3 separate regions of the Homo sapiens genome follow, and regions 1 and 3 are each linked to region 2. The links are contacts of gene promoters, found by promoter capture Hi-C in blood cells and fetal thymus (Javierre and others, 2016). All regions are on one chromosome and are shown on one strand. Each heading gives the region's core, a stretch centred on a gene start or on the middle of the fragment in contact. The rest is flanking DNA. Distances are from core to core; before and after follow the strand shown. Region 1 overlaps SKIL (SKI like proto-oncogene). Region 2 holds the start of MYNN (myoneurin). Region 3 has its middle 18 kb from the start of SKIL.

The links. The method cuts DNA at HindIII sites, captures the fragments that hold promoters and counts their contacts. A CHiCAGO score of 5 or more calls a contact.
Region 1: a contact is called between a fragment that was not itself captured here and the fragment with the promoter of MYNN in region 2, in 4 of 17 cell types (neutrophils, naive B cells, total CD4 T cells and 1 more). The highest score is 11.6, in neutrophils.
Region 3: a contact is called between a fragment that was not itself captured here and the fragment with the promoter of MYNN in region 2, in 1 of 17 cell types (fetal thymus). The highest score is 5.0, in fetal thymus.

The regions. Positions count from the first base shown.
Region 1 is chr3:170,384,127-170,387,744 of GRCh38, reverse strand. SKIL (SKI like proto-oncogene) reads right to left here. Exons shown (of 7, transcript NM_005414.5): 4 at 2,980-3,212. Among named protein-coding and RNA genes, the nearest start is that of SKIL, 28 kb to the right of the region's middle. RefSeq lists a silencer at 3,028-3,228. The HindIII fragment of the contact is 1,974 bases long and covers 286-2,259 here.
Region 2 is chr3:169,771,546-169,774,866 of GRCh38, reverse strand. It overlaps MYNN (myoneurin), which reads right to left and starts at 1,471. Exons shown (of 8, transcript NM_018657.5): 1 at 1,405-1,471; 2 at 306-602. The coding sequence starts at 571. It overlaps TRV-AAC1-1 (tRNA-Val (anticodon AAC) 1-1), which reads right to left and starts at 2,637; the gene lies at 2,565-2,637. RefSeq lists enhancers at 1,372-1,666, 1,305-1,808, 1,382-1,931, 2,822-2,921. The HindIII fragment of the contact is 7,916 bases long and covers 1-2,808 here.
Region 3 is chr3:170,338,427-170,341,571 of GRCh38, reverse strand. No RefSeq gene overlaps it. Among named protein-coding and RNA genes, the nearest start is that of SKIL, 18 kb to the left of the region's middle. RefSeq lists a silencer at 2,684-2,884. The HindIII fragment of the contact is 2,313 bases long and covers 502-2,814 here.

The DNA.
Region 1 (3,618 bases), core at 23-2,522, 610 kb before region 2:
TCACCGTTTTAGCCGGGATGGTCTCGATCTCCTGACCTCGTGATCCGCCCGCCTCGGCCTCCCAAAGTGCTGGGATTACAGGCGTGAGCCACCGCGCCCGGCCTATAGCAGCATTATTCTTAATTGCCAAAAAGTAGACCCAATGCAAATGTCCGACTGACGAAGGAATAAAAAAAATGTGGTATATTCACATAATGGAATCTTATCAGGCCATAAAAAGAAGTACTGGTACATGCAACAACATGGACTGTGAAAACATTATCTTTCATGAAAGAAGCATAAGCTTCTTGACCAGACATGAAAAGCCACATATTGTACAATTCCTTTTATATGAAATGTCCAGAATAAGCAAATCCATAAAGATAGAAAATAGATTAGTGGTTGCCAGAGGCTTCGAGAAAGGGAGAATCAGGGAGTGACTCCTAATGGATTATAGGGTTAATTTTTGGAGTGATGAAAACATTATGGGCCGAGGCGGGTGGATCACCTAAGGTCAGGAGTTCAAGATCAGCCTGACTAACATGGCGAAAACCCTGTCTCTTACTAATAATACAAAAAAATTAGCCAGGCGTGGTGACACACGCCTGTAATCCCAGCTACTCAGGAGGCTGAGGCAGGAGAATCGCTTGAACCCGGGAGGCAGAGCTTGCAGTGAGCCGAAATCACCCCACTGCACTCTAGCCTGGGCGACAAGAGTGAAACTCCATCTTAAAAAAAAAGAAAGAAAAGAAAACATTATGGAACTAAATTAGCTGTGATGGTTGCACAACTTTGTGAATGTATTAAAAACCACTGAATTGTAGGCTTTAAAAGGGTAAATTTTATGGTATATAAATTATCTCAATAATTTTTTAGAAGTCATTAGAATTAATTTAAGAAATAAAATACAATGTAAATATGGCATAATAGTCATTACTAATTTTTGTTTACCATATTTAAATCTGAAGAAAACTGAGTTTTAAAAATCTCAAAATTGGCCAGGCATGGTGGCTCACATCTGTAATCCCAATGCTTTAGGAGGCCAAGGCAGGAGGATCACTTGAGGCTAAGAGCTTAATGCCAGCCTGGGCAATACAGTGAGACCCTGTCTCTACAAAAAAAATGAAAAAATGAGGCAGGCGCAGTGGCACATGCCTGTAGTCCTAGCTACTAGGGAGGCTGAGGTGCAAGGACTATGAGCCCAGCAATTTGAAGCTGCGGTGAGCTATGAATGCATCACTGTACTCCACCAGCCTAGAGCAACAGAGTGAGACTCTGTCTCTAAAAAAGAAAAACGAAACAAAAAACCCTCAAAATAAATGTATAGAAAACCCCTGGCCGGGCGCGATGGCTCACGCCTGTAATCCCAGCACTTTGGGAGGCCGAGGCAGGCGGATCACCTGAGGTCAGGAGTTCGAGACCAGACTGACCAACATGGAAAAACCCCGTGTCTACTAAAAATACAAAATTAGCCGGGCGTGGTGGTGCATGCCTATAATCCCAGCTGCTCAGGAGGCTGAGGCAGGAGAATCACTTGAACCTGGGAGGCGGAGATTGCAGTGAGCCGAGATCACACCGTTGCACTCTAGCCTGGGCAACAAATACGAAACTCTGTCTCCAAACAAACAAACAAACAAACAAAAAAACCAGAAAACCCCCACCCAAGAATCAGCCAGGCGTGGTGGCTCACGCCTGGAATCCCAGCACTTTGGTTGGGAGGCCGAGGCAGGCGGATCACCTGAGGTCAGGAGTTCAAGACCAGCCTGACCAACATGGAGAAAACCCGTCTCTACTAAAAATACAAAATTAGCGGGGTGTGGTGGTGCATGCCTGTAATCTCAGCTACTCAGGAGGCTGAGGCAGGAGAATCTGGGAGGTGGAGGTTGCGGTGAGCTGAGATCTCACCATTTTACTCCAGCCTGGGCAACAAGAGTGAAACTCCTCAAAAAAAAAAAAGAAAAAAAAGAAAGAAAGAAAGAAAAGAAAACCCCCAAGAATCTCAATTCTCTATAAAAACTTAAATAAATAGAGGACCCTCCAACTGTTCCAATGCAGCTAAAGTAACTGTCACACTGCCTAATCACTAAGCAAAGCTGTGCTGCTATATGGATGGTAACACAGGCAATATCTGCAGACATGTCTCATTTAATCCACAGTATTTTAAAAGGCACGGTAAGTAACCAGCTATTTTTCTTTTAAATGACCAGTCAATATTCCACATTTATGCTATATGCCTGGCCCCCAGAGCTTTCAATCCTTGCTTTATTCCATAACTAAGCTTCCTTGAGTTCTATACCTAACTACTCTTACTTACATAATACTTCTTATTATTAAATGGTGTCTCAGTTCATGGCAAATCAGAAAGAAAAATAAAGGTTGGGTGCGGTGGCTCACAACTGTAATCCCAACACTTTGAGAGGCCAAGGCAGGAGGATCACTTGAGCCCAGGAGTTCGAGACCAGCTTGAGCAACATACCAAGACCATCTCTACAAAAAAAAAAAAAAAAATTTTTTTTTTTAATTAGCCAGGCACAGTGGTGTGCGCCTCTGGTCCCAGCTACTAGGGAGGGTGAGGTGGGAGGATCACTTGAGCCCAAAGGTTGAGGCTGCAGTGACCGCAATCTCACCACTGCACTTCAGCCTAGGCGATAAAGACTCTGTCACAAAAAAAGAAAAAAAAAGGAGGAAAGAAAAACAAGGATCTCCTGAAGACTGACAGCAAATAAAAGGTAGGAAAGGAAAAAAATTCGGACAAAAATAACTTGCAGTCTGAGGCCAGGTAGCCTGTATCTATCTCAGTCTCCTGAGCTATCACCACGCTAGAAAAGTATAGCAACTGAGATTAAAATAAATCACCCAGAGTTTTGAAGGGTAGCATTTTTAAAGGTAAAAGCTCCAATTATCTGAAAATTTAGCTCAAACAAAAAGCCTGTTTGAAAATGCTCAATAAATGTGTTCATTAGATATTTAATTTTAGAAAGATAATCTCTGAATACTTACCTAAACGGCTACATAATTCTCTACTTGTTTTTAAATCCATTTTCTCCTGTTCCTCAAGTGAGACATCTGGATAAGACACTGTTTTTTGAAGTTTACCACTACTGTGAGCCTTCTCTGACTGTCTTGATATGGACTTACTTGCCTCTGTCTTTGTGAGCTCTTTAGACTGGGATACAGCAGAAGTAAGTGACACATTTGGGGCAACCACTTTATCACACATGTATAAGTAGTAGCTGAAAACAAGTAAAAGCAAAACAAGACATATATTACATATTACAATTAAGTAAAAATCAAATATGTAACATGCATTTCTGTGGTTAAACTTTTTTTTTTCTAACCAAAACAGACAATATTACAACTCAGAAAATAAAGGTCACAGTAAAGAATTCTTAGGAAAAAAATCAACACTTTAGGCATTACAAACAAAATTATAAGGGATTTTTTGTTAGTTTGCAAGTAACCCAGGCTGGAGCGTAGTGGTATGATCATGGCTCACTGTAACCTCTAACTCCTGGGTTCAAGCAATCTTCCTGCCTCAGCATCCCAGGTAGCTGGGACCACACATACCCATTTTTTTTTAGAGATAGGGTCTTGCTATGCTGCCAAGTTGGTCTTGAACTCCTGGGCTCAAGTGATACC
Region 2 (3,321 bases), core at 222-2,721:
CGTCTCAAAAATAAAATAAAATAAATTCATTGTGTTTAATGTTCAAGTTTACATAAGTGAAATCACAGGCTTTGTTTCAGTAAATAAACGTGTCAGAAATCTTACTGTTTATTATCTGTGCTTATGAAAAATATTGCCTGCTCATCCTAAATCAGTGATACTGATTTCTTTATAAAAACAAACATTGTGTGCATAAATAGGTGAAGAATTTGAGTTCAGAGAATGAATGGAAAAAATACAAATCTACTTTTGCTGTGAAGACTACTGACTAGCTTTTATAACTGAAAATAAAATGTGTACTTTACCTGTCAAGATTTAAAGTTCCTGTGTATATAAACTCCAACAGTTTCTGAAATCCATCAGCCTTCACCTGACTCTGATCAAGAAAGACATTGTTCTCAGAAGTGCTTCTGTAGATCGCACCAAAATACTCACTAAAGGAGGCCAGCACATTCCTATGAGCTTTAAACTGGAATTCCCCAATCACTATGGTACAGTCACAGAGAAAACCTGCTTCCCGCTGTTTGTTCAGTCTCTCTAAAAGGTGCTCACAGTGGTGCGAATACTGCATTTTGATATCAGAATGGAATTTTACCCTTGATCTAAAAGACAAAAAGAAACAGTAAATCAGTAACCGTAAGTTCTCATCAACGTTCAGTGAGGGAAGGGACAGAGGACATAACTTAAACAATTTTAGCCCCCTTGAAAATCCTTATCAAACATACATGGTTAAGAATGAAGGGATGAGTGCCTTTCTATCTTTGGTTACCTTGATCAACTAACACAATCCTTTGGACACATCAATAAGTGACGGTGAATGGCAACACTTCTACCACCTGCAAAAAGCACAGCAAAACCTGACGCTTTCACATCTGTTGAACCCTCAGATTTTCAAGCTCAGTAGACATACTTATGTTACAAAAAAATTTTTTAAACCACTAAGACATGATCTCTTGGGACAGATAGGGGCAGAACAGTACGAGTTTTTAAAAACTGCTCTCAAGTCACCAAAACCTGTTAGTTTCCCCAGTGCAGTTTCTCCAAAACGAGAGGTGGCTGCCCAGAAAGCCGGGAATGCGCCCGGCCATGGCTTGCTGTCAAAGGTTCTATCACTCGCGCTAAGGAGGCCACACCTTCTCCCTTCCCACTCTCTACGCGAGGCGGCATCCGAGAGTGACAACCAAAGCCAGTCCCTCCTCGGCTTCTGCCGCCCTGCCCTCTGCCCAGCTCCCACTCCCGCGAATTTCCACAGCAGAGGTTGTGGCCCAGGCCACCCCGGGGCTGCCTAGCCCAAGCCTTCCACCTGCGCCCCGACCCGTGCTGGAACTCCAAGGAGCCTGCCCTCTGATGGCCCAGGCTCTAGAGAGACCGGGATGGCGGGCTGGGGGTGAAGTAGGAACTCACCGATAGCAACCCAAGGGGGGAACACAGTTTCTTCACTCTGTCTCCGCCATCTTGGGAGGACGTCACCGAGCCACGCTCCGCCCCTCCCTTCCTTCCACGGTGGCGTCACGTCCGGCTCTGTCTTCCCGTGGCAGTGCGGGAGGTTCTGGGGCCATGGGGGTCCGGCGCCGGCCAGGGCGGTACAGGATGTACCACAGAGACCCACTCCCCAGCATGCCAGGGGTCCCCCGAAGCAGCAGGCGTCATGGATACGAGAGCTGAGGGCTCGCTAGCTCGCAGCGCTCCGCCTGTCTTCCTCATCGCGAGCATTCTGGTGCCGGCAGTCAGCGTCTGGCGCTCTGCCGGGGCTCTGCGCCGAGGCCCGGCAGCACAGCACCGCGGGCCTCTCTCCTGAAGCCAGCTGCGCACTGCGTGCGGGGGCTTGTAGTTGCTTGTCTTCTCCCATCATCCTCCCCTTCCTCGGGGCCCCACCGGTGGAAACTGCTGCATGTGTACTCGGATCTCTGCCATAGGGGATTTTTTAGCTGAGACTTGGCACCCCTTTCCCGCTTACGTACCTGAAAACTCTTGGCACCCCCTGGTTTTTTTGTGCCCCAGCCAACTGTAGCTCAGCTTCCAAGATGCCCTTACCTGGTGACAGAAGTCTGGGATGCACGAAAGCGGAGCAGCTGGGCACAGTGGGCATGCGCAACATTAGAGGAAGGTGGGCTTTATACCGGAAAAGGTTTTCCTGCGTCTGGACCAGAAGATTTTTAATACGATTATTTACAGCCACTTCAGACGAAAAACCAAGTGATATAATACAAAAATGCTCAGGAGGCGACAGGACTAACCACTTTTACACTTTGATCTTTCCTTCTAGGCTGTACATTATTTTTTCAGTGTTAGCTGGTGAGTCAAATTCATTTTTTAAAACCCGGGACACATGTTCCACGTGGCAAGGCTTCCATAAAAACATTTGGTGAACGAATAAAGTAACAAAAACTTACAGTTCAGACTCTCAAATTGCTATCATGTCTTTTGAAGGACCGGCATACATTAAGCTAAGGCTTCCCTCAGAAAAAAAAACAAAACAAACAACAAAAGAAAACAAAGCGTGATCTCACGCTTTCTTCCAAGCGAAGGAAAAAAAAAAAAAAAAAAAAAGGGATTTTTTAGTGTGTTTCCGCCCGGTTTCGAACCGGGGACCTTTCGCGTGTTAGGCGAACGTGATAACCACTACACTACGGAAACCCCACTTTGGAGAGGGTTTTGTAAAGTCCTTGATATGTAAGTGTCAATTCGCAATTCTCAAGTGATTATTATCAAATTGAGAGGAATGAATATAATGTATTTAAAGAAAAAAACAGAAAAGGAAAAATAGCCTATGCCCAATTGAACAGAGCTGAAACCATTTCAAAAGCTTGAATCTGCACGCACTTTCTTCCAAAGTGCCCGGGTACCGCAGTAGAAACCAGGCACTCCCGAGTTGCCCTTCCTTTGGGTGGCCTTTTTTTTTTTTGTCTCCCTGGAAAGGCGTTTTATTACACATCCTTTCCGCAGGTTGAGCTGCTCAGAGTCCGGGGCGAAGCAGGGGGCTTTCGTTATTCAGCCGCGAAAAAGCCATCCTTTCAGCTTCTGGTGGAAGGACGTGTAAAATTACTTTTGAATTTCCTCTTTTTGCTTCCGAAGACCAAGCAGAAGTTCTAAATTGACTGCTTGTTTTCAAATTCTCTACAGATGTATGCAGAATCAGACACCAAGATGCGTTTATTGACATGCAATGTACTTTCAAATTTTTCCAAACTTGAATTTCATATGACCTGATAAACTTCACTTTTCCTGCAAAAAGACAGGCACGTCCTTCAGCCTAAAAATCAAGAGTAGCGAATGAGGCTTGCAGATTACACCAGAAGGATAGAAATCGAAATATATATA
Region 3 (3,145 bases), core at 409-2,908, 570 kb before region 2:
AAATTTAAGCCTTGTCAGTTTGATATTGGTTGCTAAGCAGAGTGGCTAATGTCTATGTTTTATCACACATATTTTGCTCTGGCCAAAATGAAAAAAAATGTAATTTCCCTTTATGATGCGGCTTGGCCCCCAGGGCGATGGTGCCACAAGCCTGATCAGTAGTGCTGCTCAGGGAAAGGGAACCCAGAAGCCTGGTGTGCTGGCAAAAGGGTAAGAATTTTCCTACCAGTCAGATTTCTGGCTTATCTCTCTGTACAGATGGTTTGATGAATGGTTAAAACAAAACAAAACAAACAAACAAACAAACAAAAACCAGTGCTTATTTCCTCTGTAAAGTTTTGATTAATGTGAAAAGAATTCTAAGGCTAATCTTAAGCTGGTGTATTTTGTGCTATGAATTTGTTTTTCTGTGTTGAAGGGTACTTTAGGATAAAACACGGACTTGGAACACCTGTAAGCCCACTTTTCAAGACCACCCAGCAAGCTGGTCAGTAACAAGCTTGGCTGCAGCTCCCTGAAACAAAAAAACTGGATGAAGTCTCCACGTTTTTTTATGTTCTTGGGAGCCTGACCTTTTAACCATGTGGCAGTACTTTATTTTGGTCTCTGCCATCAGGGAACAGGAATTTTAGGATTTATATCATATTCATCTCTAAAAATCATATTAAATTGTTAAAAAGCCTTTGGAAGCTCAAAATTAACTACTCTAGGCTCGTTCCAGGAAAAGAAGTGGGGACTGCCCATGCTGTAGCTCAGAAGCTGAGATTTTACACTTTCACAGTGGTGGTCCAGGTTTGATTCCCCACCTAGGAAGTAAGTCGTTTCTGGTTTAATATCTGCGTAAACTTGTCTATTCTCTTCTCCTCCACAGACTGTCTTACATTTTCCTTTCTCTATGTACCTGGGAGATTACCTTTGGTAAGTTTAAAAAGCCAGAAATATCTGCCATTTGGCATAAGAAATTCTAAAGGAACTTTAATAAAGAGTGCTATGGTTAAAATCAGTATAATTAAAAGTGGATATTCAAGCTCTAACAGCCTGGACTCCTTGGGAAAAACAGGAGGCACAGGAGACCCCTTTCCTGGCCATGTTCTTCCAAGGGCTCCACCATAAAGCCATTAATGCAATTAAGAAACTTAAAAACCAGGCCGGGCATAGTGGCTCACACTTGTAATCCTAGCAGTCTGGGAGGCTGAAGCAGGTGGATCATGAGGTCAGGAGATCGAGACCATCCTGACTAACACAGTGAAACCCCGAATCTACTAAAAAATACAAAAAATTGGCTGGGCGCGGTGGCTCACGCCTGTAATTCCAACACTTTGAGAGGCCGAGGTGGGCAGATCACCTGAGGTCAGGAATCCCAGACCAGCTTGGCCAACATGGTGAAACCCCGTCTGTACTTAAAACACAAAAAATTATCTGGATGTGGTGGTATGCACCTGTAATCCCAGCTACTTGGGAGGATGAGGCAGGAGAATCAACTGAACCCGGGAGGGGGATGTTGCAGTGAGCCGAGACAGTGCCACTGCATTCCAGCCTCGGGAACAAGAGCAAGACTTCATCTCAAAAAAAAAAAAAAAAAATTAGCCAGACATGGTAGTGGGCGCCTGTAGTCCCAGCTACTCAGGAGGCTGAGGCAGGAGAATGGTGTGAACGTAGGCAGTGAGCCTAGATTGTGCCACTGCACTCCAGCCCAGGTGACAGAGCAACACTCTGTCTCAAAAAAAAAAAAAGAAACTTAAAAACTGGCAAATGAAAAATCTTACACCTACTGTAGTAATCTTCTTCTGTCTTTCTGTGTACCTGTATATGTGTTGTGTATAATGTTTATACAAAAAAGCTCTAATTAATTGGCTTAAACAAAAATAATCACTTAAATCAAATATTTTGAAAGCATGGCCAGGTGCGGTGTCTCATGCCTATAATCCCAGCACTTTGGGAGGCTGAAGTGGGTGGATCACCTGAGATCAGGAGTTCAAGACCAGCCTGGCCAACATGGTGAAACCCCATCTCTACCAAAAATACAAACATTAGCCAGGCATGGTGGTGCCTGCTTGTAGTCCCAGCTACCCGGGAGGCTGAGGGAGGAGAATCACTTGAACTTGGGAGGCAGAGGTTGCAGTGACCCCAGATTGCACACTGCACTCTAGCCTGGGTGACAGAGTGAGACTCTGGCTCAAAAAATATATATATATATTTTGAAAGCAAAACACAAACTGTAATGCCTTTTAGTTCATGTGACTTCAGTAATCTTTGGGAAATAAAAACAGCTTTAAAAATTATTGATAAAACATTTAGTCTAAATTATACAGGTCAAATATTAAGTTTGCTAAATGCTTTAAGGTCATAAACTGCTTCTTTAACTTTTAAAAATTGTTCAATGGATATCTTAAAGCCATTAGATTCTAGATAAGGCCTGCAGACATGTGGAATTAGCCATGCCCCCTAGCTATACAAAGAAGATTATAAAGAAAGAGATTTTATGTAAGAAAAGATCTTGTGTGATAAATTCTTGTTCTAAAGTAAATTGATGGGTTGTTTAAAAGGAGGGAAGTTTAGGGCAAGTCACAAAGTCCAAGAATGTCTCAGATGGTCTGTGTAAGTCGTGAAAGGGAATTTATGCAAGAAATGTACAATTCAAAGGTTGTTAGGTCTCCTAAATGCTTCATAAAATGCCACTATGACTCTTACTGTACAACTTGCCTGCTTAAGTAAGGTAAGGCCTGGGGCTGTGTGGAGTTAGCCTTGCCCCCTAGCTATGCTGGAGAGTCAGCCCTTATCTGCACTTCTGTGTGGTATGTCCTAGGCTAAGCTTCACACCTAGTACACAATTAAAATGGCTTACTAACCAGGGTTTTCACCAAAAGTAGAAGTGGCTAAAAGTTAACATTGTGACATGTAATTGAGACTATTGAATAAACAATTTTACATGTAAGATGTCTAAGGAAAGTAGAATGTACTTTTGGTAAAAGATTATAACAAGGCATGGGAATATGGTTTTATTGCCTAAAGGGTTAAAGAATTGTTTTAACTTAGAGTAAAGCTAAAGGTTTAAACAAGTTATGGAAGGTTTATAAAAATTAATTTTAAGAAATTCTGTATGTGAACATGTTGACTAAAGTTAAAGGGGTATTATTCAGTTTTT